Linked DNA regions of Homo sapiens: regions 2, 3 and 4 are each linked to region 1. The links are contacts of gene promoters, found by promoter capture Hi-C in blood cells and fetal thymus (Javierre and others, 2016). All regions are on one chromosome and are shown on one strand. The core of a region is centred on a gene start or on the middle of the fragment in contact, and the rest is flanking DNA. Distances in the headings are between cores, read along the strand shown. Region 1 holds the start of OSTN-AS1 (OSTN antisense RNA 1). Region 2 holds the start of PYDC2-AS1 (PYDC2 antisense RNA 1). Region 3 has its middle 19 kb from the start of PYDC2-AS1. Region 4 overlaps CCDC50 (coiled-coil domain containing 50).

Evidence for each region. Contacts are between HindIII fragments. The CHiCAGO score rates a contact against its expected background, and 5 or more counts as called.
Region 2: a contact is called between a fragment that was not itself captured here and the fragment with the promoter of OSTN-AS1 in region 1, in 2 of 17 cell types (total B cells and naive B cells). The highest score is 8.3, in total B cells.
Region 3: a contact is called between a fragment that was not itself captured here and the fragment with the promoter of OSTN-AS1 in region 1, in 2 of 17 cell types (naive B cells and total B cells). The highest score is 6.5, in naive B cells.
Region 4: a contact is called between a fragment that was not itself captured here and the fragment with the promoter of OSTN-AS1 in region 1, in 2 of 17 cell types (total B cells and naive B cells). The highest score is 12.2, in total B cells.

The regions. Positions count from the first base shown.
Region 1 is chr3:191,230,331-191,236,998 of GRCh38, reverse strand. It overlaps OSTN-AS1 (OSTN antisense RNA 1), which reads left to right and starts at 2,394. Exons shown (of 6, transcript NR_133663.1): 1 at 2,394-2,427. The region is part of intron 3 of OSTN (osteocrin); the gene reads right to left. The HindIII fragment of the contact is 7,111 bases long and covers 1,688-6,668 here.
Region 2 is chr3:191,421,507-191,428,174 of GRCh38, reverse strand. PYDC2-AS1 (PYDC2 antisense RNA 1) reads right to left here and starts at 2,651. Exons shown (of 7, transcript NR_120606.1): 1 at 2,571-2,651. The HindIII fragment of the contact is 539 bases long and covers 3,295-3,833 here.
Region 3 is chr3:191,402,773-191,409,440 of GRCh38, reverse strand. No RefSeq gene overlaps it. Among named protein-coding and RNA genes, the nearest start is that of PYDC2-AS1, 19 kb to the left of the region's middle. The HindIII fragment of the contact is 9,329 bases long and covers 1-6,668 here.
Region 4 is chr3:191,386,386-191,393,053 of GRCh38, reverse strand. CCDC50 (coiled-coil domain containing 50) reads right to left here. Exons shown (of 12, transcript NM_178335.3): 11 at 3,452-3,558; 12 at 1-1,313. The coding sequence ends at 1,294. Among named protein-coding and RNA genes, the nearest start is that of PYDC2-AS1, 36 kb to the left of the region's middle. The HindIII fragment of the contact is 7,087 bases long and covers 1-6,368 here.

The DNA of each region.
Region 1 (6,668 bases), core at 1,145-3,644:
CTTGGAGTTAAACAATCTGGCATGTAATTTATATCAACATAATCTCAGGGAAATCATTTTATCTCTCCGAAAACATAATAAAATGTGGATCCTAATGTCAGAGGCATTTGAACCAGAGTGACTCCATCTTGAATAGGGGCTGGGTAAAAAGAGGCTAAGACTTGCTGGACTGCATTCCCAGAAGGTCAGGCATTTTAGTCAGAGGATGTTTACAGTTAAGAAAACAAGTTAATAATGTTTATGGAAGAGATCCAGGACTTAGCAGGTCCAGAAAATATCCTGATGTCACGATATCTTAAGAACAAAAGTATTCTTAGTTTAAGAGTAAGTTTCACTTTAAAGATAATAATATAAATTATTGTGGAAGACAGTAGTTATACAAAGATTAACAATCCTTTGTCCCAAGCCCTTGTAGTAGCGCACATCTCCCCAAGGATTGTTTTTTTTTTTGCGTTATTATCTTATATATAAACAAGCATTATACCTAAAATGGACGCATTCCTCCTCTTGCTTTTGGGCCCTACTCTCTATGGAGTAGGCATTTTTTTGTTTCTTCATTTCTGTAATAAAATTGCTTTCACTTTACTCTGTGGACTTGCCTTAAATTCTTTCTTGTGTGACATCCAAGAACCCTCTCTTGGGGTCTGGTTCGGGACCCCTTTCTGGTAACAATACCTCCTTCTTAGTGTGTGATAGAGATTTTTAAAAAAGAATGTACCAGAATATTAAAATGGGATGCTTTCTATCTCAGTTTTTGGCTGTGGCTTTAAAAGGCTGAGTAAAAAAGAGACAGAAAGAGAGAAAGTATGTGGGAAGTATTTCGTTTTGCATTCCAAAGTGAGGTGCTAGACTTATGTAGTACTTCCAAAGGAGGTTGCTACAAACTTAGTTTTTTCCAACTTCAATCCAATAAAAGGATTCATATTGAATAGCTCAGGAAGGGAGAATTTCTTGGGAGCAAGTTATTGAAAAACAATGGCATTTTCCTTCCTCCTTCATATGGGGAAAGGGCTTTGAGAAAAACACTTCGAGTTTAAAATATGTCCATTGAAGCATGGTGAACCTAATAAAATAGTGTCTATGAAATCTAAAGGGCAAGAAGCTGTGAGAATTGGCTTGATACCAGACTGAAGAGATGACTGCACCAAGAACTGCTTCACTTTCAGTAATGAGAGTCAAGGATGTGGGTTTTCTGTGGGCAGATGTAGAGCATGTGGAGAGAGTCAGCCTGGGTCAATTATAAAAGGGACCTTGCCCCAAGGGCTTTCTGTCAGGGCTGATGGGGGAAGCAAACTCATCAGGATGCTGATGGTGGTGTCAAATGCAGAAGATGAGAGAGTAGGGTGAGGATGAGGGGCATAGCAGATCTGCCAGAAGAGGAGTATTATTGGAGGTAAGGACGCCTATGTTACTATTCGCACTGGGGGTTATGTGACCCCCAGAAACATTCCAAGATGAGTCAGCTTTGAGCATTCACCAAAGCCATGAGGGCACAAAGACAGGTCATGATATTATGTCAAGTAAGACTTTGTTTTACTTCTCTGCATGCATCTCCATCCCCAGTTCTGGAGGAGACAAAAGGCAGCCTACTGTGATAGGGGAGATTGTGAATATAAACTGGCCACAAGCTCCTTCCCACTGAAGCCTTCCAGGATGAATGGGGTCCAAGCTAGGGAAAAGAGAAGCTTTATTAGTATTCATGGTTTGGGGTCACATATAAGAATGGTTATTTGAATTACTGTTATATGGTTATTTTTCTAGTACAAGTAACCATAGGGATTCTTATTATTTTGATGTGGCCAGTAGAGCCATTAATACCTGCCTTTGGGTTTACTCAAGGGGTAGGGAACAACAACTACCACTGAGTGGGTTGGAATGCATGGGGATGGGAGGAAAAGCTGTTTTTTCTGATTATGACTTATGGAGTTTTTCTCTTTCAATTAGGTGGTATAATAACAATATTCTGGAGCAAAGTGTTTCTTGACCTAAATCTACAGAATGTGTATAATTTTGCTGGCTATCTTCCCTCTGCTCTCAGATGTATGCTGCCTTTTCTCACCCTACTTTCAGTCCTAGGAGGCTGATCTTTTTGGAACATATAAATGTTCCTGTGCCCTCTGGCTTTGGTGTGGATCAAGCAATAGATAATTTGGGGAAGACAGAATAGAGGAAGAGGAGGAGAGAGGTCAGGATAATTTTCTCCTGGCCACTCCTTGCAAGACCTCTTCCCGGGAGTATGCTCCTGAAGAAAAGTCACTACTTTTCTTTTCTTTTTGTGCTTTGCTTTTTTTTTTTTTTTTTTCAGATGGTGTCCCGTTCTGTTGCCCAGGCTGGAGTGCAATGGCGTGATCTTGGCTCACTGCAACCTCTGCCTCCCGGGTTCAAGCGATTCTCCTGCCTCAGCTTCCCAAGGAGCTGGGATTACAGGCGCGTGCCACCACACCCAGCTAATTTTTATATTTTTAGTAGAGACGGGGTTTCGCTTTGCTGGCCAGGCTGGTGACAAACTCCTACCCTCAGGCGATCCACCTGCCTCGGCCTCCCAAAGTGCTGAGATTACAGGCATGAGCCACTGCACCCGGCCAAGTCACTACTTTTCTCAAGGCATCTGAAACTCTGTGACTCTCTGACTTTTGGAAACCTCTTCCTTTCTTGTCTTTTCAGGCCACCGTGGGCTGCTGTGCCATCCATTATAATCTACCTGTACCCAGAGTTTTGTAAATAGTCTTCCTTTGAAAAAACCCTCCTCAAATTTTCCTATTTCAAAGGTGACACCTATTTCTTGTTGGAACCCTAACCCAATAGCATTTCTTGCTTTACTGACCTAAAATATTAAATGGGAGAATTAAAGCAATAAGAGTTGTACAAATATTTAATAGTAATTGAATTCAAATATAGAGCACTATTATTGTTATTATTTGCAAGACATTTTTAGTGTTGTGTGAAGGAGTGAGAGAAACCATTATTTAGAAAAATTCTAGGCCAATCATCAATTTTTTTTTTTTTGAGATGGAGTTTCGCTCTTGTGACCCATGCTGGAGTGTAATGGTGTGATCTCAGCTAACTGCAACCTCCGCCTCCTGGGCTCAAGTGATTCTCCTGCCTCAGCCCCCAAGTAGCTAGGATCACAGGCATGCGCCGCCACACCCAGCAAATTTTGTATTTTTAGTAGAGATGGTGTTTCACCATGTTGGTCATGCTGGTCTCAAACTCCCAACCTCAGATGATCTGCCTGCCTCGGCCTCCCAAAGTGCTGGGATTAAGGGCATGAGCCACAGTGCCTGGCCGTCAATATCTTCTAATGTTAAAGAGTCAGTCAGATAGTAGATACTATTCTTCCAGAAAAAAGTCAGGGCGTGGTAGCTCATGCCTGTAATCCTAGCACTTTGGAAGGTTGAGGCAGGCAGATCACTTGAGATCAGGAGTCCCAGCTACTTGGTAGGCTGAGGCAGGAGAATCGCTAGAACCCGGGATGTGGAGGTTGCAGTGAGCTGAGATTTTGCCACTGCACTCCAGCTTGGGTGACAGAGCAAGACTCTGTCTCAAAAAACGAAAAAAAGAAAACAGAAATAAAATGGTAACTTCAGACTTTAAACAAGTGAATGGAAATGAGAAAAATATTTTGGGCTTCAAAGTATAGTTGAGTTAGTGTTGCCCGGAGAATTGAAGTAATTTGCACATGAATCAGAAAATGAAGCTAGTGTCCTATTCAGGTAAAAATGTGTTAAGCAATACAAAATAGGAAACAACAGGTGGTTCTTTATTTCAAGTTAATATGACCTGATATAGGGTTTTCCCTGTTTAGCTTTTTATATTTGTTTCTTTTCATTTTTGTTTTCCCTAGCTTTCATGAATTTTTTTGTTTCCATCTCCTGGTGGACCTTTTTGAAAGTAGAGTTAATTTCCTTTTTCTTTTCTGATATTTTATAGTAATATAGAATTAAATAATATGTTTTGTACCCTGGTGACTCAGAGTTTTAAAATCTGGGATTATGGAGCAATATAATTCAGGGGCCTATACGTGTAGATGGGAAAGGGTTACATCTTTAGTTCCATTAACCTGTAAATGAAAGATAGCATTTATGACCGAACGCAGTGGCTCACACCAGTAATCCCAGCACTCTGAAAGGCAGAGGTGGGCAGATCACTTGAGGCCAGGAGCTCGAGACCAGGCTGGCCAACATGGAGAAACACAGTCCCTACTAAAAATACAAAAATTAGCCAGGTGTGGTGGCAGGCACCTATAATCCCATGCCTATAATCCCAGCTACTTGGGAGGCTGAGGCAGGAGAATCACTTGAAACTGGGAGGTGGAGGGAGCAGTGAGCCGAGATCTCACCATTGCACTCCAGCCTGGGCAACAAGAGCAAAACTGCGTCTCAAAAAAAAAAAAAAATGATTTAGTCACTGCCCTTCAGCCTAGGCAACAGAGTGAGACTCCATCTCAAAAAATAAAAATAAAAATAAACATAATTTTATATATATATATATAGCATTTACTTTATGAATATAGAAAAAAATAATAGTAATAGTTGTGTCTGAACATTGTTACTCATATAAATCACAAATACTTTCAAAGCACATTTTAATTATCACAGATGCTTTGAAATGGTTATGTTCTGCACTAGTTACAACAATTTTTTTTTTTTTTTTTTTTTTTTTTTTTTAGACAGAGTCTCCCTCTGTCACCCAGGCTGGAGTGCTGTGGCACAATCTTGGCTCACTGAAACCTCCGCCTCCCACGTGTTCAAGCGATTCTCATGCCTCAGCCTCCCGAGTAGCTGGGATTACAGTTGAGTGCCACCACGCCTGGCTGATTTTTGTATTTTCAGTAGAGACGGGATTTCACCACGTTGGCCAGGCTGGTCACGAACTCCTAACCTCAGGTGCTCTGCCTGCCTCGGCCTCCCCAAGTGCTGGAATTACAGGCATGAGCCACCGCACCCAGCCACAGCTATTGTTTGCAGACATATCTTTACATCTTATTTTAGGTATTAATAAATATAATATTTAAAATATTTTATGTATATGTTTTATTGCAAATTAATTAAAAAATTGTTTTTGATAATTCTGTTTCTAAACAGTGGCTAACCTTTGAACTCATAAATTCTATCACTCTAAAAACAATACTCTGAGAAGGGGTTCATAGGTTTCCCCAAATTGCCATAGTGACATATGACACAAAGTTTATGAATCCCTGAATTAAGTGATGTATGTGATCTTTAAGCACAGAGTATGGAAAATGGATCTCAGATGTATTACCTTCTCTTAGTAAGTATGGGAAGATAGAGAATGTGTGCCTGATAAGGGGAAAAACATGAGGGCATATACATGAAAATCGCAGACATTTATAAGAAACTCATGAAGTTTTTGTGCACACTCATGCGTATAACACTAACAAATAATTCCTGGTCTTGTGAAAGATCTAACAACACATAAGGAAGCAGTAAAATTCTTGTCTCATAGAATTTGAAAAAATAGCAGTAAATAACCCTCAGTACAGCTCTCCTAAGCAAAATTATTATAATTTTTATAAAATTTTATTTTTATGAAAAGTTTGCAAAATTGCAAGCTATACATTCTTGTTACTAAATACGTCACATTTTAGTCTTGTGGTTTATATATATGTGATATATATATATATGTGTGATTTTTTTAATGACGCTGAAGCCTTGGTAACAGATGACAGAAAATTTTAACACTGTATTATGTTTGAAGTATCATTACACCTCAAAATAAGTCTGAAATTGTTTTTAACTAAAACTCAGAAATGTCTATAGAAATATTTTATGCAATAACTATTATTTGTCTTTCATTGTTTTCTACTTCTGGAATATACAAAACAAGTTTCAGATTTGCTTTCAGAACAAAAAGAGGAATTCCTGTATTTAAAAAAATGCTGCCAAAAAATCTCAGAGGAAGTGTCCTTGGAATTTAACTTGAATGCATAAATTATCAACTATAAAAAATAAAAATATAGAAGACTAAAGAGTATGCATTCGGAGGGATTCTCAACTTCCGAAGCCCGTAGATGAGCTTCTGTGCAAATGCCTCATGCTCCTTAACACTGCCAAACTTCTCGAAATAGTTGGAGGTGAAGGTAAAGGAGAGAAAAAAGGAAAAGAAATAGTTCATTTTTAATTTCCTAGGGTCATCAATTATTTTACTAAATTCTTTTCTTGCTTTATACAGCATTGGATGAAACCTTTGCAATCTAGCTCCAGGGATGTTGATTAACGTTATATGGGTTCTGCACTGCACGTTCCAGAGGGCAGCAATATGAATGGTTGCAGAATGCAACATTCCTTTGTGACCCCAACTCTCCTTCCCAATTTCATTTCTTGTCCCATTTCTTATTCTTATCACCTGATAGTGAGTTCTCATGCTACTTAGCCCTTTTAAGAATGTGTCTTTTTTTTTTTTTTTTTTTTTTTTTGAGACGGAGTCTTGCTCTGGCACCAGACTGGAGTGCAGTGGCCCGATCTCAGCTCACTGCAACCTCCACCTCCCACGTTCAAGCGATTTCCCTGCCTCAGCCTCCTGAGTAGCTGGGGCTACAGGCGCCCACCACCATGCCCAGCTAATTTTTTGTATTTTAGTAGAGACAGGGTTGCATCATGTTGACCAGAATGGTCTCGATCTCCTGACCTGGTGATCTGCCCGCCTCT
Region 2 (6,668 bases), core at 2,315-4,814, 190 kb before region 1:
ATCCCACTGCCAAAGGACAACTATCCTTAACATTTGTATATTTACCGTTTAGTGTATTTTCTATACTAAAATAGATAGGTGTATATAACATATATAACTTGAATCATAGTAAGCCTATTGTTTCATAAGATTCATTCCATTAAAAAATAAGTCAATAAGCTATTTTGTGGATTACTATCTTATAACAGAAATGTAATGGCAGCAGGATGATCCACATGACAAGCTGATAAAAATTTATTTTTTTTCCGCTTTTTATTTTGAAATTTTAGACTCAGAATAGTTGTAGTAATAGCACAAAGAAATCCTAAAAGTCTTAAATTTCTGAATGTTAACATGTTACTGCATGTGTTCAGCATTCCCATGCATACTTTCTCTCTTTCCCTCTCATATGACTCCTTCTCTCCACAGACTATGTATACATGTGTACATAAATACATATATATACGTATAATACTTTCTAAAGAGAAAGCTGCAAACAGAATTACGCTCTAAACACTTGAGTGTAATTTTCTAAAATGAAGGATGTTCTTTTACATAAACATTACAATTAATAAAATTAGTAAAATTACTTGACATTGATGCAATACTTCTTGTGATACACAGATCAAAGTTACAGAATAAATTCAAATTTCTCCCATTTTTTCTATAATGCCTTTTATAGACCAGGAATGTTCTTTTTCTTATCCAGAGCACAAGCAAGGATAACACATTGCATTAGTAAATTGGGTCAGAGCCAAATCATAGTGGACATTAAGATGTAGGTCTATTAAGAAGTTTCTACTTAATCTTATAAGAATAGAAGACATTGGAAGTTTTAAGCTCAGATTATCAGATTTTGTTTTGTTTTGTTTTTTAAAGGCATTTCTGTTGGCATCACAGAAAATGATTTGGAAGAACAAGACTGTTTAATACATTTCTGGAACAGTGAGACACAAGAGGACAAGGCACAGACCATACAGATGGAGAGGAGGGGAAAATAAGAGATGAATGAAAATGAAGTGTGCAAAGGCAAAGCCTGTGCTCCTCCATTCCAAAGCAGGAATTAAATGGTTTAAGTTTGTGATGGCAGACCATCTCCTACCACTGCTATTCACTTATAAGGAAGAGGACAAGAAAATGTCCTGCCTTCAACTTATGTTTGCAAAGAATGTTTTAAGATTGAGTTTGTAATGCATTGTGTATTTCTCAGTGAAAAGGGATAGTCCAGTTTAACAACTGTCCATTTCACATTTAGCAATCTGTTTACACCATCACAGCCCCCTATTATACGCCAAACTACGAAAGGCCTTGAATGTCAGCCCCCAAAGGTCTTACTTTCTCTAATAGCCAGCCTAAGGTTAGAGATCACTCTTACTTTTGCACTTAAATAAATGGATGGTGCTAAACTTCTGTCATTTAACAAGCTAAATTAAAGAATAATTAACAGCCTTAACAGTTAAAATAAAAATATGCATAAGATGTTTTACAATCCTATAAAACCTAATGAAATATATTATTCAATTAAAAACTTTCACCTGAGAACTTAGGTTCTTAGGTTTATCATACAATTCAATCTGCACATCTTCTGGGAATTGAGTTAAAAATGCAGATTTTGATTCCATGGGTCTGGGGTGGAGTCTAAGATTCGGCATTTTAACATGCTGCCAGGGTTTGTCCATGATGCTAGTTCCCAGACCACACTCTGAATAACAAGAATGTAGCAATCATTGATTGAGTCTCACTGGATAATAGATTTTTACTTGGAGAGGGAGGTGGCACAAGCAGGCTGGAAAGAGTACAAGGGTGGGAGTCAAGGATAAATAGTTCAAGAACTATCTCTGCCATTAATAAACTGGGTGACATGAGGCAGATCCTATGATCATTTGGGGCCTCAGTTTCCTCGATGTATATATCTGCAATGGAATAGTGAATTGGTTTTCTAGGACATAAAGATATGTTTTTAGCAAACATTTAACAAAATTCAAACCTTAATGAGCAGACATGCTATGGCTGGTTTAGTTGCAGTAAATGTATTTATTTAAAAATGTTCAATGTTTTCCTGCTGAGAGTGCATCTGAAATAGTTACCATCTGATTATAAAGAAAATGGAAAACTAAATTTCAAGAGAAAATGACCTCTTCTCTTCATAAAGTTGAAGGCTAAATGAAAGAACAAACAAAGACTGTGGCCGAGGAACCATAAATCAGGAGATTAAAATATTCCTTCTATATACAGAAATAAATAACCTACTTTTCTTCCTTAGGCATGGCTTTTAGCAAAATACACTGTTTTTGAATTTGAAATGAAACAGTTTTTCATTTCATTTAAACATGTGGCTCTCAACCGATGGGAGACAAAAGACAATTAAGTATAGTCTATTGCTTGCAGAAGCATTCAGATTAGTAGGGGCAGTGTTCCCAAGAAATCAATGGGGTCTAATCAGAACACCCAAAATCCAAAAGTATACACCTTGTACAAAACATTATTTCTTCATAATCTGTAAGTCGTTGTATTAGTCTGTTTTCACACTGCTGATAAAGACATACCCGAGACTGGGCAGTTTACAAAAGAAACAGGTTTATTGGACTTACAGTTCCATGTGGCTAAGGAGGCCTCACAATCATGGAGGAAAGTGAAAGGTACATCTCACATGGCGACAGACGAGAAGAAAGCGTCTGCAGGGAAGCTCCCATTTTTAAAACCATCAGATCTCGTGAGACTTATTCACTATCACGAGAACAGCACGGGACCCGCCCGATGATTCAATCACCTCCCACCAGGTTCCTCCGGCAACATGTGGGAATTGTGGGAGTTACAATTCAAAATGCTATTTGAGTGGAGACACAGCCAAACCATATCAGTAGTAAACTAGATAGAATGGATTTTTAAAAAGTGAAGAAAGAGAAAAAGAGAGGGAAGGAAGGAGAGAGAGCTGTATTATTTAACTTGGCAGAGACTTATAGTGAGCACATTCATTCACTTGTCACAATCTTTGGGATCAGCTGTGTTTTTGAAGCAGCCCAGTATCCAGGGGTCACCTTTTGCCAGCTGCCTGGGTCCTGTTGCTTTTGATCACTTTCTCTGGCAGATGTGATGTGATTCTATTTGCCAGCTCGCTCCTTTGACTTTGCTAACTCAGTGCACACTGCTCTCATCTCACTAGCAGGGCTGCCTCTGGGTGAAAGCACTTACTCCTGCCAAAGGCGATCTCCCCTTGGAAGGGCAAGCCCCTGTCATCACCTGACAGCCCAGACTCCCACGGCAGATGCAGCTCTCCCTCTGGTCCTGGTGTCAGATTCAAAGGCCTGACAAGCTTCCATCAGCAAAAGCTCTCTTTTAATTGCTATAGATCAAAAAGTGCTGAACATGTCCATCAAAATAGAGTAGAACAGGATAGAGGAAGAGAGGAAAGATTAGGCATTTACCAAGATAACCCAGGGTTTCTTCATGCCACCTGGTCCCATCTGATTAATGAGGGGGTCATTTTCCCACCAATACCATAAACAAAAAGCAACCAATTTCATTGTCTGTATCAATATACGGACATGTATTTTCTGCCATGTATTTTCTATTTCCTATAATTTGTCCCTACAGTTACCTCATATTTCCATTAGGGGACACCCGCCAACACACACCCACACCTACAAGAGAGAAAGAGAGAGAGCCCTTAACCGCATTTCTTTTTTTAATTTTACATACTTGTTATTCCTTTGTTCTTTCCTATTGCATTCTATCGACATGGCAAAAAACTTGATTTTCATAGCTGGAAATGGGCTTCACTAAACAGAGTCTAATAGTTGAGTAAACTAAGGCCAAGAGAATTGATCTGACTTCTGCAAGGCTACACAGAAGCTTTACCTACTACCCCACTTTCTATTTAATGTACCCTTCTATTTCATGACTATGCTAGCTATATTTAAATAACTTGATCTAAAAGCTCCAGAGGCAATCACACGTGCTCGTTGGAAACCAAGCCCACTATGCCACATTGGCCCTGCCACTCAATAGCTTCCTTCTCTGTACAGTGAGACGTGCAGCCTTCCCTACCTCGCAGAGGAGTTGTGAGCATTGCAACTACTGTCTTGGTAATGCTATTCAGTCCAAACACACAGTGAGTTCTAATTTATCGACTATTTCTTTTTTTTTTGTTAACTTTCATGTTAAGTTCAGGGGAACATGTGCAGGTTTGTTACGTAGATAAATTTGTGTCATGGGAGTTTGTTGAACAGATTATTTCATTACTCAGGTATTAAGCCTAGTACCCATTAGTTATTTGTTCTGATCCAGTCCCTCCTCCCACCCTCTACCCTCTGAAAGGCTCAGTGTATGTTTTTCCCCTGTGTTTGCCCATATGTTCTCATCATTTAGCTCACACATGCAATATTTGGTTTTCTGTTCCTGCGTTAGTTTGCTAAGGATAATGGCCTCCAGCTCCATCCATATTCCTGTAAATGATATGATCTCATTCTTTTTTATGACTGCGTAGTATTCCATGGTGTGTATGTACCACATTTTCTTTATCCAGTCTATCACTGATGGGCATTTAAGCTGATTCCATTTCTTTGCTATTGTAAATAGTGCTGCAATGAACATATGTGTGCATGTGTCTTTAGAATAGAACAAATTCTATATTCCTTTGGGTATATACTGAGCAATGGGATTCTTGGGTCAAATGGCATTTCTGTTTTTAGGTCTTTTAGGAATTGCCACACTGTCTTCTACAAGGGTTCAACTAATTTATATTCCCCCCAACAGTGTATAAGCATTCCTTTTTCTCTGCAGCCTCACCAGCATCTGTTCCTTTTTGACTTTTTCACAGTCATCATTCTGGCTAGTGTGAGATGGTATCTTATTGTGGTTTTGATTTGTATTTCTCTAATGTTCAGTGATTTTGAGCTTTTTTTCAGATGATTGTTAGCCGTATGTATGTCTTCTTTTGAAAAGTGTCTGTTCATGTCCTTTGCCTGCTTTTTAATGGGGTAGTTATTTTTTCCTTGTAAATGTCAGTTCCTTAGAGATGGTGGATATGAGACCTTTATTGAATGCATAGTTTGCAAAAATTTTCTCCCATTCTGTAGGTTGTCTGCTCACTCTGTTTATAGTTTATATTTTCCTTTGCTGTGCAGAAGTTCTTTAATTCTATTTGTCAATTTTTGCTTTTGTTGCAATTGCTTTTGGCATCTTTGTCATGAAATCTTTGCCTGTTCCTATGTCCTGAATGGTATTACCTAGGCTGTCTTCCACGGTTTTTATAGTTTGCTGTTTTATATTTAAGTCTTTAAAACATCTTGAGTTAATTTTTGTATGTGGCATAAAGAAGAGATCCAGTTTCAATCTTCTGCATATGGCTAGCCAGTTATCCCAGCACCATTTATTGAATAGGGAATCCTTTCCCCATTGCTTCTTTTTGTAGCCTCGACTATTTCTTAAGTAGAAATTAGTATTCAGAAGAAGTAAAACATGTATAGTTTACTCAACTTATTTAATGCATCTTAATAAGTTAGAGACCAGCGATCTCCAAAAATTGAGGTTTTCGTGATTTTTTTTTTTTTTGGTGGATCAACAGATTGACAAATGTTATTTTCCCAAGTAAACAAGTTTCTAAAATTCTCGCTATCACATTTGTCCTATAAACTAAAAAAAACTTAAATTCAAAGTAGAATAAAGGGCATAATTTGAAAATCAAAAATAATCCTTCCCCAAAACAAATAATACTTTTGATTCTGATGTGAAAATGCTGTCATGGACCAGTGTAACAAGCACTAGAGTTTGCAAGCCCTGTGTTTTTATCTCATCTCTAATAACAAAGAGGCATGTTGCCAGAGACTGCATGTAGCCCTCCTTCTTCCCATCTTCCCATATGTGCCAGGAAGAGGCAAAGCTCAGGGGCTTTGACTGAGAAGACATTTTTCCAGGACTCTAAATGAAGCAGCTACCAGTAACTGAAAACTTATCCAGTCTTCATCAAATCTGCACATAAATTCGATTTGCCAAAGTCAGTATCCAAAAAAAAAAAAAAAAATTCATCAAACACAGACAATAAGCGAACCTAACAAAATGAATGCTGGAAAAAGAGCAAGCTCTGCCCTTTATTGTAAAACTCACCTGTACTTCTGGTGATGTTCATAAAAACGGTGTATGAGAAAATAGACTGAAAGCTTAATAAAAGATCGATGTGGGCTGTGACTGCATGAACGGTGTTCAAATTTAGGAAGCAATAGCTTGAACTCAGTTTTGTAGCATTCAGACCATGCCTGGAGGTGAGATTTCAGCAGGGACAAAGACAGACTAAAATAGGCAAGAGGAGACAATCAGAAGTGCAAAGGCCCTGGGCTGTATCATAAAAAGATACTGATGACCCCAGGGATGTCTATGTCAGAGTAGTAAAATTTCAGGAGCAACAGTCACTGTTTTCAGAAGGCTGAAGAGCTGTCATGCAGAAGAGAAAATAGAACTGCCAGAGCCACACGAAGGTCAAAATGATTGGAAACGAAGTAAAATAGACTTATACAGCAGAAAGAAAAAAATCTAACTCTTACAGTTGCTCCCCTCTCCCCAGCCCCCCCAAAATGGAGTGATTTTCTTGAGCAGTGTTGAGTTCCTTATACTGGGAAGTAAGGAATGTCCACACCAAGGAGTTATACCAGAAAGTCTAACAAAAATAAAAAAGATGGTGCTATACATTCCAG
Region 3 (6,668 bases), core at 1,720-4,219, 170 kb before region 1:
CTCAGGAGGTAATGCTCACTCGCCTACCACTCACCTCTTGCTGTGTGGCCCAATTCCAAATGGGCCATGGACCAGTACCAAGGGTTGAGGATCCCTGCTGTACATTATTTAAAAAACAAAAGCATAAAAATAATTATAGATCTATGCTATTGGGCATAAAATGTATAAAGATATAATATGTCACAACAGCAACATAAAGAGAACAAAGTTTTTTTATTATTATACTTTAAGTTCTAGGGTACATGTGCACAATGTGCAGGTTTGTTACGTATGTACACATGTGCCATGTTGGTGTTCTGCACCCATTAACTCGTCATTTACATTAGGTATTTCTCCTAATGCTATCCCTCCCCCTCCCCACACCCCACGATAGGCCCTGGTGTGTGAAGTTCCCCACCCTGTGTCCAAGTGTAAAGGGAACAAAGTTTTTGTATGCTATTGAAGTTGATGTCAATTCAAACTAGACTGTTACAAATTTATTATGATAAATGTAATCCCCATTGTAGTCACCAAGACAATATTTAAAAAAATAAAAGAAACTGAAAAAGGAAGCAAAACAATTCATTTAAAAATATCAACTAAACACAAAAGAAAATAATAATAGAGAAAATGAGGAACAGAAAAAAGGATTTATCCATTTGGAAGACAGATATCAAACAAGCAGAAGTCCTTCTTTAACAAAAGTTACTTCAATTGTCAATGGATTAAAATTCATTAATGAAAAGGCAGTGGTTGGCAGAATGGATTTTTAAAAAATTATTCAATTATATTCTGTCTACAAGAGACCCACTTTAAATCTAAAGACACAAATAGGTTAAAGTGAAAGGAAGGAAAAGAATATTCCATGCTAATGGTAACCAAAAGAGACCTGGGGTAGCTATACTAGTACCAGGCAAAACTGACTTTATGTCTAAAAAAAATTACAAAAAATAAAGACATTCTATATTGATAAAAAAGTAAATTCATCAAGAAACTACAAAAATTATAAATATATATGCACCAAACATAGCTTCAAAATATATAAAGCAAACACTGACAGAATTGAAGGGAAAAATAATTTTACAATAATAGTTGAAGGCTCCAATACACCACTTTTATTAATGAGAACATCTAAACAGTTGGCCAATAAAGTAGTAGAGGATTTGAATAACACTATAAACCCATTAAACCTAACAAACATATATAGAACACTCCACCCATCAACAGCAGAACACACATTCTTCTCAAGTGCATATGGAACATTGTCCAGAATAGACTATGTTGGGCCAAAAAGTAACTCTTAATAAATTTAATAAAGTCAAAATCAAAGTATCTTCTTTGATCACAATTTAATGAAATTGGAAGTCAATGTAATGAATATGGAAAAACTACAAATGTGTGAAAATTAACACATCCCTCTAAAACCAATGAGATAAAGAAAAAAAATCAAAAGGTAAACTAGGAAATACTTAGAAAGTAATAAAGATAAACACACACACACACACACACATACACACAATACCAAAATTTAGAGGATGAAGCACAGGCAATACTCAGAAGGAACCTTATAACTGCATATACCCATATAAAGAGAAAAATCTCCAACCATTAATCTAACTTTATACTTTGAGGAAACAGGAAAAAACTAGCAGGAAGGGGGAAAGAATGAAGATCAGAGTAGAGATAAATGAAATAGAGAATAGAAAAACAACAAAATCAACAAAACCAAAAGTTGTTTATTTGAAAAGATAAATGAAATTATAAGCCTTTAGTTAAGACTGACAAAAAGCAAAGCAGCAAATAACTAAAATTAGAAATAAGAGTAGAAACATTACTATCAATCTTACAAAAATAAAAAGGATTATCCCAAATTTACAAAAATAAAAAAGATTATAATAATATGAACAATTGTATACCCATAAGTTAGATAACCTAGATGAAAAGAACCAATTCCTAGAAACACAAATTGCCTAAACCAACTCAAGAAGAAATGAATAATCCCAACAGACCTGTAGTAAGAAATTGAATCAGTAATTAAAACACTCCCAGTATGGGCGCGATGGCTCATGCCTGTAATCTCAACACTTTGGGAGGCCAAGGCAGGTGGATCACGAGGTCAGGAGATCGAGACTATCCTGGCTAACACAGTGAAACCCCATCTCTACTAAAAATACAAAAAATTAGCCGGGCATGGTGGCACGCGCCTGTCGTCCCAGCTGCTCGGGAGGCTGAGGCAGGAGAATCGCTTGAACCCGGGAGGCAAAGGTTGCAGTGAGCTGAGATAGTGCCACTGCACTCCAGCATAAGTGACAGAGCGAGATTCCATCTCAAAAAAAAAAAATTTAAAAAATTTAAAAAGCATAGGACCACATGGATTTGCTGGTCAACTCTCTAAATAAATAAATAAGAATGGAAAATAATCCTTCCCAAACTCCTCCAAAAAATAGAATAGGAGGCAGCAATTCCTAACTCATTCTAAGAGGTAAGCATTGCCCTCTCATGCCCACTTTCACTGCTGTTACTCAATATTGTACTGTAAATTCTAGGCAGAAAAAGTAGACGTAAAAAAGATATAAAAGGCTGACATAGTTTGGATATTTGTATCCTCCAAATCTCATGTTGAAGCATTATCTCCAGTGTTGGAGGTGGGGCTGGTGGGAGGTGTTTGTGTCACAGAGGCAGATCCCTCATGAAAGGCTTGGTGCTCTCCCCATAGTAATATATTCACATGAGATATGGTTGTTAAAAAGAGTCTGGGAACTTCTCCCTCTTTCTTGCTCCCTCTCTTGTCATATGACATGTCTGCTTTTCCTTCACTTTCCACCATGATTGGGAGCTTCCTGAGGCCTTCACCAGAAGCAGATGCTGGTGACATATTTCTTGTACAGTCTACAGAACCATGATCCAAATAAACCTCTTTTCTTTATAAATTACCCAGCCTCAACTATTGCCTTATAGAAATACAAAATTGACTAATCAGAAAATTGGTACCAAGGAGTGGGGCATTGTGATAACAACGCCTGCAAATGTGGAAGCAGCTTTAAAGCTGGGTAGTAGGCACAGGTTGGAATAGTTTGGAGGGCTCAGAAGATGACAGGAAGACAAAGAAAGTTTGGAACTTCTTAGAGTCTGTTTAAATGATTGTAACCAAAATGCTAATAGAAATATGGAGAGTGAATGCTGGACTGATGAAGTCTCAGATGGAAATGAGGAACTTACTGGGAACTGGAGCAAAGATTGCTCTTGTAATGCCCTAGCAATGAACATCGCTGCATTTGCCAATGCCCTATGACTTTGCAGAAGACTGAACTTGAGTGATGACTTAGGGTATCTGGTGGAAGAATTTCTAAGCAGCAAAGCATGCAAGATTTGGTGTGCTAGCTTCTCATGGCCAGTGATCAGATATGGGAGCACAGAAAGAACTTACAGTTGGAACTTATCATTAAAAGGGAAGTAGAGCATAACAATTTGGGTAATCTATACCCTGGCCATGTGGTAGAGAAGGAAAGAGCATTTCCAGGTGAGGAATTTGAGCAAGCAACCATTGCTAGAGATATTAGCATGAATAAATGGGAGTCATGTCCTAATAGCCAAGACGATTTTAAAAAAGGTCTCAAGGCATTACAGAAATATCTGAGGTGGCCCTTCGCATCACAGGCCCAGAGGCCTAGGAGCAAAGAATAGTTTCAGGGGCCAGGCCCAGGGTCCTGCTGCTCTTTGCCACTTTGGAGAGATGTTCCCTGCATTCTGGTTGTTCTAGATACAGCCAAAGCTCAAAGGGACCCAGGTACAACTCAAGGTGCCATTCTGGAAGGCACAAGCTATAAGTCTTGGAAGAATCCACATTGTGTTAAGTCTGCAGGTGTGCAGAATCCAAGAGTGGAGGAGGTTTGGCAGCTTCCACCTAGATCTCAGAGGATGTATCAGAAAGCCTAGGTGCCCAGGCAGAAGCCTGCTATAGGGGCAGAGGGTTCATAGGAAACCTCTACTAGGACACTGCCAAGGGAAAATGTGGAGTTGGAGGCTCCACACACAGTCCTCACTTGGGCATTGCCTCGTGGAGCTGTGGGAAGGGGTCCACTGCCCTCCAGACCCCAGAATGGTAGAGTCAGCAGCAGTGTGCACCTTTAACTTGAAAAGCTGCAGACAATGGACTCCAACTCATGACAGCAGCCACATAGGCTGCACCAGCAAATCCACAGGGGTAGAGCTGTCTAAAGCCTTGGGGACCCACCCCTTGAACCAGTGTTCCCCGGATGTGAGCCATGAAGTCAAGAATTATTTTGGAGCTTTTAGGTTTAATGTCTTCCCTGCTGGGTTTTGGACTTGCTTGCCAAGTCTGTTGCCCCTTTCTTTTGGCCAATGTCTCTTTCAGAATGAGAATGCTTACTCAATGCCTGTATCACCATTGCATCTTAGAAGTAAATAACTTGCTTTGATATTACAGACTCATAAGTGGAAGGAACTTGCCTTGAGTCTCAGATGAGACTTTTGACCTTCAAGTTGATACCAGAATGAGTTAAGACTTTTAGGGACTATTGCGAAGGAATGATTACATTTTGCAATGTGAGGAGGACATGAGAGTTGGGGACCCAGGGGCAGAATTATATAGTTTAAATATTTAGATTTCAACTCCAAATCTCATGTTGAAATGTGATCTCTAATGTTGGAGGTGGAACCTAGTGGGAGGTGTTTGGGTCATGGGAGCAGGCCCCTCATAAGTGGCTTGGTATTCTCCCCACTGTAATGATTTCATACGAGATCTGGTTGTTAAGAAGAGTCTGAGACCTCCTCCCTCTTTCTTGCTCCCTCTCTTGCCATGACACACCTCCTATCCCTTTGCCTTCCACGATAACTGTAAGCCTCCTGATGTCCTCACCAGAAGCAGATACTGGTATTATGCTTATTGTACAGCCTGCAGAGCCATGAGCCAAATAAACCTCTATTTGTTAGAAATTACCCAGCCTGAGGTAATTCTTCCTAGTAATGCAAAACAGACTAATACAAAGCATCTCAATTTGAAAGGAAGAAGTAAAACTACCTCTGTTTGCCTATGATATAATCCTATATATTGAAAATCCCAACGAATCCACAAGATAGATACTGGAGTTAATAAGTGAATTTAGCAAAGCTGCAGGTTATAAGATCAATAAATAAAAATCAATTGTTTCTATACACTAGTAATGAACAAACAAAAAAGGAAATTAAGAAAGCAATTCCATTTACAATAGCTTCTAATATTCCAAGGAATAATAAGGAATAAATTTAACCACAGGTGTGAAAGACAATACACAATAAATTACAAAACATAATTGAAAAAAATTAAAATAGCATAAATGGACATTCCATGATCATGGATTGTAAAACCCAATATGGTTAAGATGGCAATGTTACCCAAAAGACCTGTGGGTTCAATGCAATCCTTATCAAAATTGCTACAGTATTTTTGTAGAAATGAAAAGGCTAATCTTAAAATTCATTTGGAATTGCAATGGGGCCCCTGACAGCCAAAATAATCCTGAAAAAAACACTGGAAGATTCACAATCCCCAATTTCAAAACTTACTACAAAGCTCCAGTAATCAAAATAGTGTAGTAGTGGCATAAGGCTAAACATATAGACCAGTGGAACAGAACTGAAGTCCAGAAATAAACCCACAAACTTATGGCCAATTGGTTTTCCTCAAAGGTGCCAAGTTGATTCAATGAGAAAAAGAAAATTTCTTCAACACATAGTGCTGAGACATACAGTAGGTTTCCAGATACAAAATAATGAAGTTAGAGCCCTATTTCACACACAATTACGATGACTATTAGGGAAAAAAAGAGAAGAGAACAAGTGTTGATGAGGATGTGGAGAAACTGCTGATAGGAATGTAAAATGGTGCACTCATTATAGAAAACAGTTTAGTGGTTCTTCCAAAAGTTAAACAGAGAGTTACCATATGACCCAGCAATTCCTACATATATAACCAGAAGAACTGAAAATAAAGACTCAAATACTTGTACTACAATTAAACATTATTCACAATAGCCAAAAGGTGGAAACAATCTAGTGTCTATGAATAGATAACTGCATAAACACAATGTGATATATACTTAGAATATTCAGCCATAAAAAGGAATGAACTGCCAAAACACGTTACATGAGTGAACCTCGAACACAGTATGCTAAGTAAAACAAGCCAGACATGAAAGGAGAAGTAGGTTGATTCCACCTTTATGAAATATCTAAACCAGGCAAATTCATAGAGACAGGTTACATTGCTAGAAGTTGGGGAAGGGAAAGAATGGGGAATTACTGCTTAATGGGTACAGAGTTTATATTTTGGGTGACTGAAAAGTTTTGGAAATACTAATAGTAATGACCAACACTGTGAATAAAATAAATATCACTGGATCGTACACTTAAAATAGTAAAACTTCATAATTTGTTATGCAGATTGCATAATAAAAAATACACCAGCAAAATAAATAAATGCAGAACACACTAAAAGAAAAAAAGGAAAAGAAATTGCCAAAACAGCTTTAATTTTCCATTGGAGGAATATGAAATAATACCCATAGATTTCTTTTTTGAAAGAGTAATAAAAAGGAACATGTTTCACTAGACATTAATTTAGTAATTTGAAATGTGGCACTAGACAAAGGTAAGAGAATTTTTTACACAGAAAATATACAGAATTAGAA
Region 4 (6,668 bases), core at 1,576-4,075, 160 kb before region 1:
AACCAAATACTTGGCTGGCTGGACATGGTGGCTTAAGCCTGTAATCCCAGCACCTTGGGAGGCCAAGGCAGGTGGATCACTTGAGGTCAGGGGTTCGAGACCAGCCTGGCCAACATGGTGAAACCCGCTCTTTACTAAAAATACAAAAATTAGCCGGGTGTGGTGACACATGCCTGTAATTCCAGCTACTTGGGAGGCTGAGGCAGGGGAATTGCTCCAGCCCAGGTGGCGGAGGTTGCAGTGAGCCAAGATTGCACCACTGCACTCCAGCCTGTGTGACAGGGCGAGACTCCAACTCAAAAAACAAAACAAAACAAAACAAAAACCAAATACTTGGATAGATGACCACTTCATCAAATTCAACTTCATGTTGAATTAATTTAATTACTGGCATGTAAACCAAACATTATTGAGAGGTTATCAACAAATACTGCTCTGACTTGAAGCAAGAGAAAAGCCTCAGTCTACAGCCAGAGAGAAGGATGGCATCATTACTTATGCAATCATCTTTCAATTCCATTTCCTTGGCTCTACAAGTAAATGAAAAAGAAGAGATGGAATACAAAGTTTTTCATATATATGAGTTAAAATTTCAGAGAACTAAATTTTTGTCAATAAATACTAATAAATGTTCCATTGCCCAGGAGCTTAGGAAAGCCTTGCTACTGAGGCAAAAGCAGAGGAAGTGTTAAAGAATGCTATCTAGGCCAATCTCCCCAGGAGGGCTGAGAAATGCAAAACCTCTACAGTCCATCTAGTCAGAATAACATATTTCAATTGCTCCAAGTGTTTCTTTTTTTAAAATACTTTATGGTTGTGCTTTTCTTAAAGAATACAAAAAGCAAAGGCTCTGTCCTTCAAAATATCATACATTAATGCAACAAAAAGCTATTTCTTATATTCTTTTATTCTGCGTTGCATCCAAACATTGTTTCACTTTGATCATTCATCTCCATAAAATTTGAATTGCTAAATAAGGCCTACTCCCTAGATACCAAACTCCATACCTAACAAAATGGCAGTTTACAAAGGTCTTAGATACTATATCCCAAGAAGTATATGCAGCATAGAGGTGGCCAATATTCAGAAGCTACATTTTCTTATACTGCCCAAGTGATCATGAATAACCAAAACATTTGAAATGAATTAAAATTACTTATGGTCAGAAATGCACTTGAGGATAAATCCCAGGAATGCAAACACAGGAGAAAAAAAGTAAGTGTAGAATTCATTCTGTATCACCCAGTAATATTTGCTATAGTGAGTCCATTTTCAAGGCAGATTCCTAGGTTTTTAATGTTTGTAATGAAAACCTGGGGAGGGGAAGAAAAAAGGAAACACAATTAAGGAAAAACCTTTGAAACTCAAACAGCTTTTTCTCCCTGCCCAAGTAAAATAACTTTATTTCTATACATTTCTAATAGTACTTTATTCTTGATTGTGACATATATACAGAATCAATGTGTTAGTTTAGTATTATGCATCAAATGTATGTCAAAGACAGTAAGGTACTCCCCAAAAGGTGATACATGTAGTTTGAGAAAGAAAAATATGAGCTACTTCGTTAAATCGGGAACAGTGAAAATGCCACCAACTGATGGAAGTTGAGGTGGGATGTGTTGATGAAGATGTTTATAATGTCCAACTAACCTTACTTTTAAAATAATGCCTTTTGTCTTTTTCTCAGTATTGGATGTGAGTCAGAATGTGGGGGTGGGGGAGCTTCTTAAAAATGCAAATGCTTGACAACCCCCATCCAGAGATTCTGATTGAAGTAGTCTAGAGTGTCATTTTTGCGATGGTATTTTTAAATGACAGCAGAAAATGTTATTTAAAGATATTTGGGGACATTATTATTGACTTGGAAATGAATAACAATATCACCTAAGTCTTCAAAAATCATAACAAATAAACAGCATCAATTAATGAGATATAATATATTTGCAAAGTCTACTGCACTGTGCAAAATTCTTTCACATATTTAATCTTTTATGATCCTGACAACTCTGACACTTTCTATTTAGACTGCCTCCATTTTGCAGATGAGGAAGTTAATATGAGAAACTACCTTTTCACCATTTCATTTTACAGCTCTCATAAAAATGTACATAAGTGAACGCAGATCCTTGCAAGAGCAAATACGTTCCTCTGTCAGAGGCGTTTGAACCAGAGAGACTCCATCTTTAATAGGGGCTGGATAAAATAAGCCTGAGACCTACTGGACTCCATTCCCAGGAGGTTAGGCATTCTAGGTCACTGGATGAGATAAGGGGTTGGCACAACACACAGGTCATGAAGACCTTGCTGATAAAACAGGCTTTGGTAAAGAACCTGGCCAAAACCAAGAGGGTGACAAATCTGAACTCTGGTTGTCCTCACTGCTCATTATATGCTAACTATAATGCATTAGCATGCTAAAAGACACTCCCACCAGAGCCATGACAGGTTACAGATGCCATGGGAACATCAGAAGTTACCCTATAAGGTCTATAAAGGGGAGGAACCCTCAGTTCCAGGATTTGCCCACCCCTTTCCCAGAAAACTCATGAATAATATACCCCTTGTATTAATCAGCATATAATCAAATAACCATAAAAATGGGCAACCAGCAGCCCACACTGCTGAGCAGCCATTCTTTATTCGAACCTTCTTCTTGGAGTCTGAATCGGGACCCTTTTCTGGAAACAAATTTTAAAGGTTTCGTCCAATTGAGGTATCCCTATTTTTTCTTTATGCTTTGTTCCATTTTTCTTTTGCATAACAGTTATGTGGGAGGTGTGCATGCATATTTTAAATCTAATTAATAAGAGTCATGGGCAGATAGGAAACAAGAGCCACTACAGAAAATGCAGTCCTACAGATCTAAATGGAGGTCACCACCACCTTTTAAGAATCTGATGAAAGAGCTGGGTGCGGTGGCTCATGCCTATAATCCCAGCACTTTGGGAGGCAGAGGCAGAGGGATTACTTGAGTCCAGCCTGGGGTGACATGGTAAAACCTCATCTCTACAAAAAAAATACAGAAATTAGCCAAGTGTGGTGGCACATGTCTGTAATCCCAGCTACTTGGGAGGCTGAGATGGAAGGATCACTTGAACCCAGGTGGTGGAGGCTGTAGAGAGCCAAGATCATGCCACTGCATTCCAGCCTGGGCAACACAGTGAGACTCCGACTCAAAAAAAAAAAAAAAAAAAAAAAAAGTGAATTTGATGAAAGCGTTGTGCTCCCTCTCGAGGAAAATGCAAATACACAGAATATCTTACATAAAATTTAGGGTGTTCTGTTTTCTGTTTTGTTACTGTTTTAATAAATGAGGAGTTCTATAACAATGTGCTGACAGAATAACTTATTTTTCCACTCTAGTGGAACACAGAATTTGATTTTTCCACTACAACACGAGGCTTATATAAAAAAAGAAGATCCTAAACTTGACCATACATACTCTTCTTACCTTTATGAGAGGACTCTGATTTTGAGAAATGCCGTGTGGAACTCTGCTGGTTTGTAAAATGAGTGTAATCCGCATCTTCACCATCTGTCATGATAGGTGGTGGTGGCCTAAAAGGAATCCAGAATTTAAAGGGGCATTCTAAGTAACGCTTACTACAACTCCACCCCTCTTACTGGATTGCAAGCTAAAAACATTTTCTTGTGAAATGAAAAGCCAAAATGCTTCAGAATTCACACTGTAGTTCCTGGACAGTTGCATGGCCTTGAATAAATTATTTATCTTCCCGTTCCTTTGTTTTGATGTCATAATTCAATACAAACAATTATCTCCTCAACAACTAATACATGTTAGGAACTGGGCTAAATAAACAAAGATTAGTGAGATGTGACTGCTGCCATTTATAAGAAATAAACTTTGTTTTGGTAGGTCTTACCAAGTCAAAGAAAAAATAACAGAATAAAGAACAGAAAAGAAGAAAATAATAAAGCCAAGGAAGAAAGGAAAGGAAAAAAAGAAAAAAGGAAGGGTAAGAGACAGAAAGGAGGGAGGAAACAGAAACAAAATTTCATGAGCAAAGTTCCTTTATCCACTAGGTGGCAAAACAGATCTTAATACATTTGCAAATTCTATGTAATACATTCGCAACTTTTTATGTCAAAAAATGTAAAAAAAAAAAAAAAGATATAATTTTTACTACTCTAAACTTTTTATTAAAATTACTTAACATAGATTTATGCAAACATGTAGCACTGAAGCAGAAAACCTCTCATTCTTTATCTCCCAAAGGTATACTCAAAGTTTGCACTAAAGGATAGCACCAGATTATCAAATTTATCAATATATCAAAGATTTATCAAATATAACCATACTGTAGGCCATTTTGTACATTTATATGTAAAATCTAGAAGGCATAAGTATTCTGAAGTTTGTAAAGTTATAGTTGGTTTGGTACAATGGGCTCTGTCATGTAAAAATAAAAGCAAGTGTTTCCAAATTTTTTATCTTGTCGCCATGCAATAAATCTTTCCCTGGGTATTCAGCATCCCGAAGAGGTCAGCATGGGATATAAACTGGCATATGTGCTGAGGACCATGCTACAGGTTCTACACAGATTATCTCAATTAACTTTCAGGACAAGTCTGTATGCTAATGCTAACTATCATATACATATTTGAGTCAGATTAGGTTAGATGAGGTAAATAATCTGTCCATTTTCACACAGCTGTTAAGTGGCAGACCCAGGGCTCAAACTCAACTGGATTTCAAAACCAGTGTTCTTAACTACTCTACTACATAGGTGTGTATTTTTATCAGGAGCAGCATCATCTGTATAAAAGACTATATGTATATATGTGTGTTTATATATATGCATTTGTATATTTTCAGAAGTATACTTTCATATGTTATTGTACTTATACTTTCAAATATCATTTCATGCATCTGTTTTATATATATATATATAAAAGTAATGGAAACATAGTGAATAATGCATTTTTTCTAATTTTTATTTTTAAATCATTTGTTTACCAATATTGGAAATTAAATAGTATTTTTCTCCAATACCTGATATTTTTAACACTTATCTTTAATAAACAATGTAAGACTTGGTAGAAAAATTAAGACAAATCAGTCTGACTCTAGGATTAAAGAACTTAGCTTCAAAAAGCAAACAAGTGGCTTAAGAAGTGACTCAGGCCCAAGAAAACAGGGTTAGTAGTTAGAATGACCCAGTCTGTTCTTCTCTCTTTTATTAATGTCATTAGGCAGTCAAAAATCAGAAAGACAGACGTTGAGTGGAACTCACAAAAACAATCCATGATTAGTGCCTCACCATCAACTCATCAAGGAAAAGTATGCTAAAGTTATGAAACAAAGCACAGGATGCCCACAAGTTTTCTAGCATGTCCATGTAAGGATAAACAAATCAATCTAGAATGCTCTTAAGGGTACTGTTCTAGAATGCTCTTAAGAGTACTTCTTAAGTACTTCTTAAGAGTACTTCTTAAGAGCAATCTAGAATGCTCTTAAGAGTACTTCAGTGCTCTTAAGGGTACTGTTCTGTTTAGTTTCAGGTTACATAGAGAACAAATCTTGGCTTACTGCTGCCAAGAGTCCTACACCAAATTATTTTGTTATACCTGAGACAATTGTTTTAAAGTTACAGCATATATATCCAAGTTAGAAAAATCTTATTAACTAACTTTGTTGTACAGTTTTATTGTATTAAGACTGCCTGTTTCCTACCGTTCTCATGAAATCATTTACATCTTTAATTTAGTGATACAGCCAAACACCTTTCATAATTCACTTCAAAATTCACTTCTTTAAGAAACCCTCCTAGACACTTAAACCAGGATGTCTCCCTATGTTCTTATCATCCTGTACTTTTCATCCATAGCACTTAACACAATCATAACAGTTATTTGGATAATTATTTGTTTAGATTATAAACTCATGAGAACATGACAGAGTTCATTCTTGTTGACTGATGTGTACCCCAATTATGTGTGAGCAATTAATAGGGTGCTCAATAAATACTTGATAAATGAATAAATGGAGACAACTGTATTTCACATTAATAAGAATGCACAAGGAATAAAATGAGATTTAGAAAATATTTAATTTTCCTATGAAAAAATGCAAGTAGAATAACAAATAATATTAAAAGTATAAAATCCTGTAGTTAAAACAATTTGGAACATGGGTTGAAATTTTTTCCAGTTACAAGAGTTAGAATTCAGATTGCTAAGTGATCCTCTATTTCCTTAAAAACAGTAGAAAACTTCTTTCAACAGTGTTTTGCAGTTCTCCTCATAGAGATCTTTCACCTCCTTGGTTAGAAGTATTCCTAAGTATTTTGTGTGTGTGGTTATCGTAGATGGGATTGAGTTCTTGATTTGATTCTCAGCTTGAAGCTTACTGGAATATAGAAATGCTACTGATTTTTGTACATGGATTTTGTTTCCTGAGACTATGCTTAAGTTGTTTATCAAGTCTAGGAGATCATAGATGACACAAATAAATGGAAAAGCACTCTATGCTCATGGGTTGGAAGAATCTATATTATTAAACTGTCCAGGTCAGGCGCGGTGGCTCACGCCTGTAATCGCAGCACTTTGAGAGGCCGAGGCGGGCAGATCACCTGAGGTCAGGAATTCAAGACCAGCTTTGCCAAGATGGTGAAACCCCATGTCTACTAAGTATACAAAAATTAGCT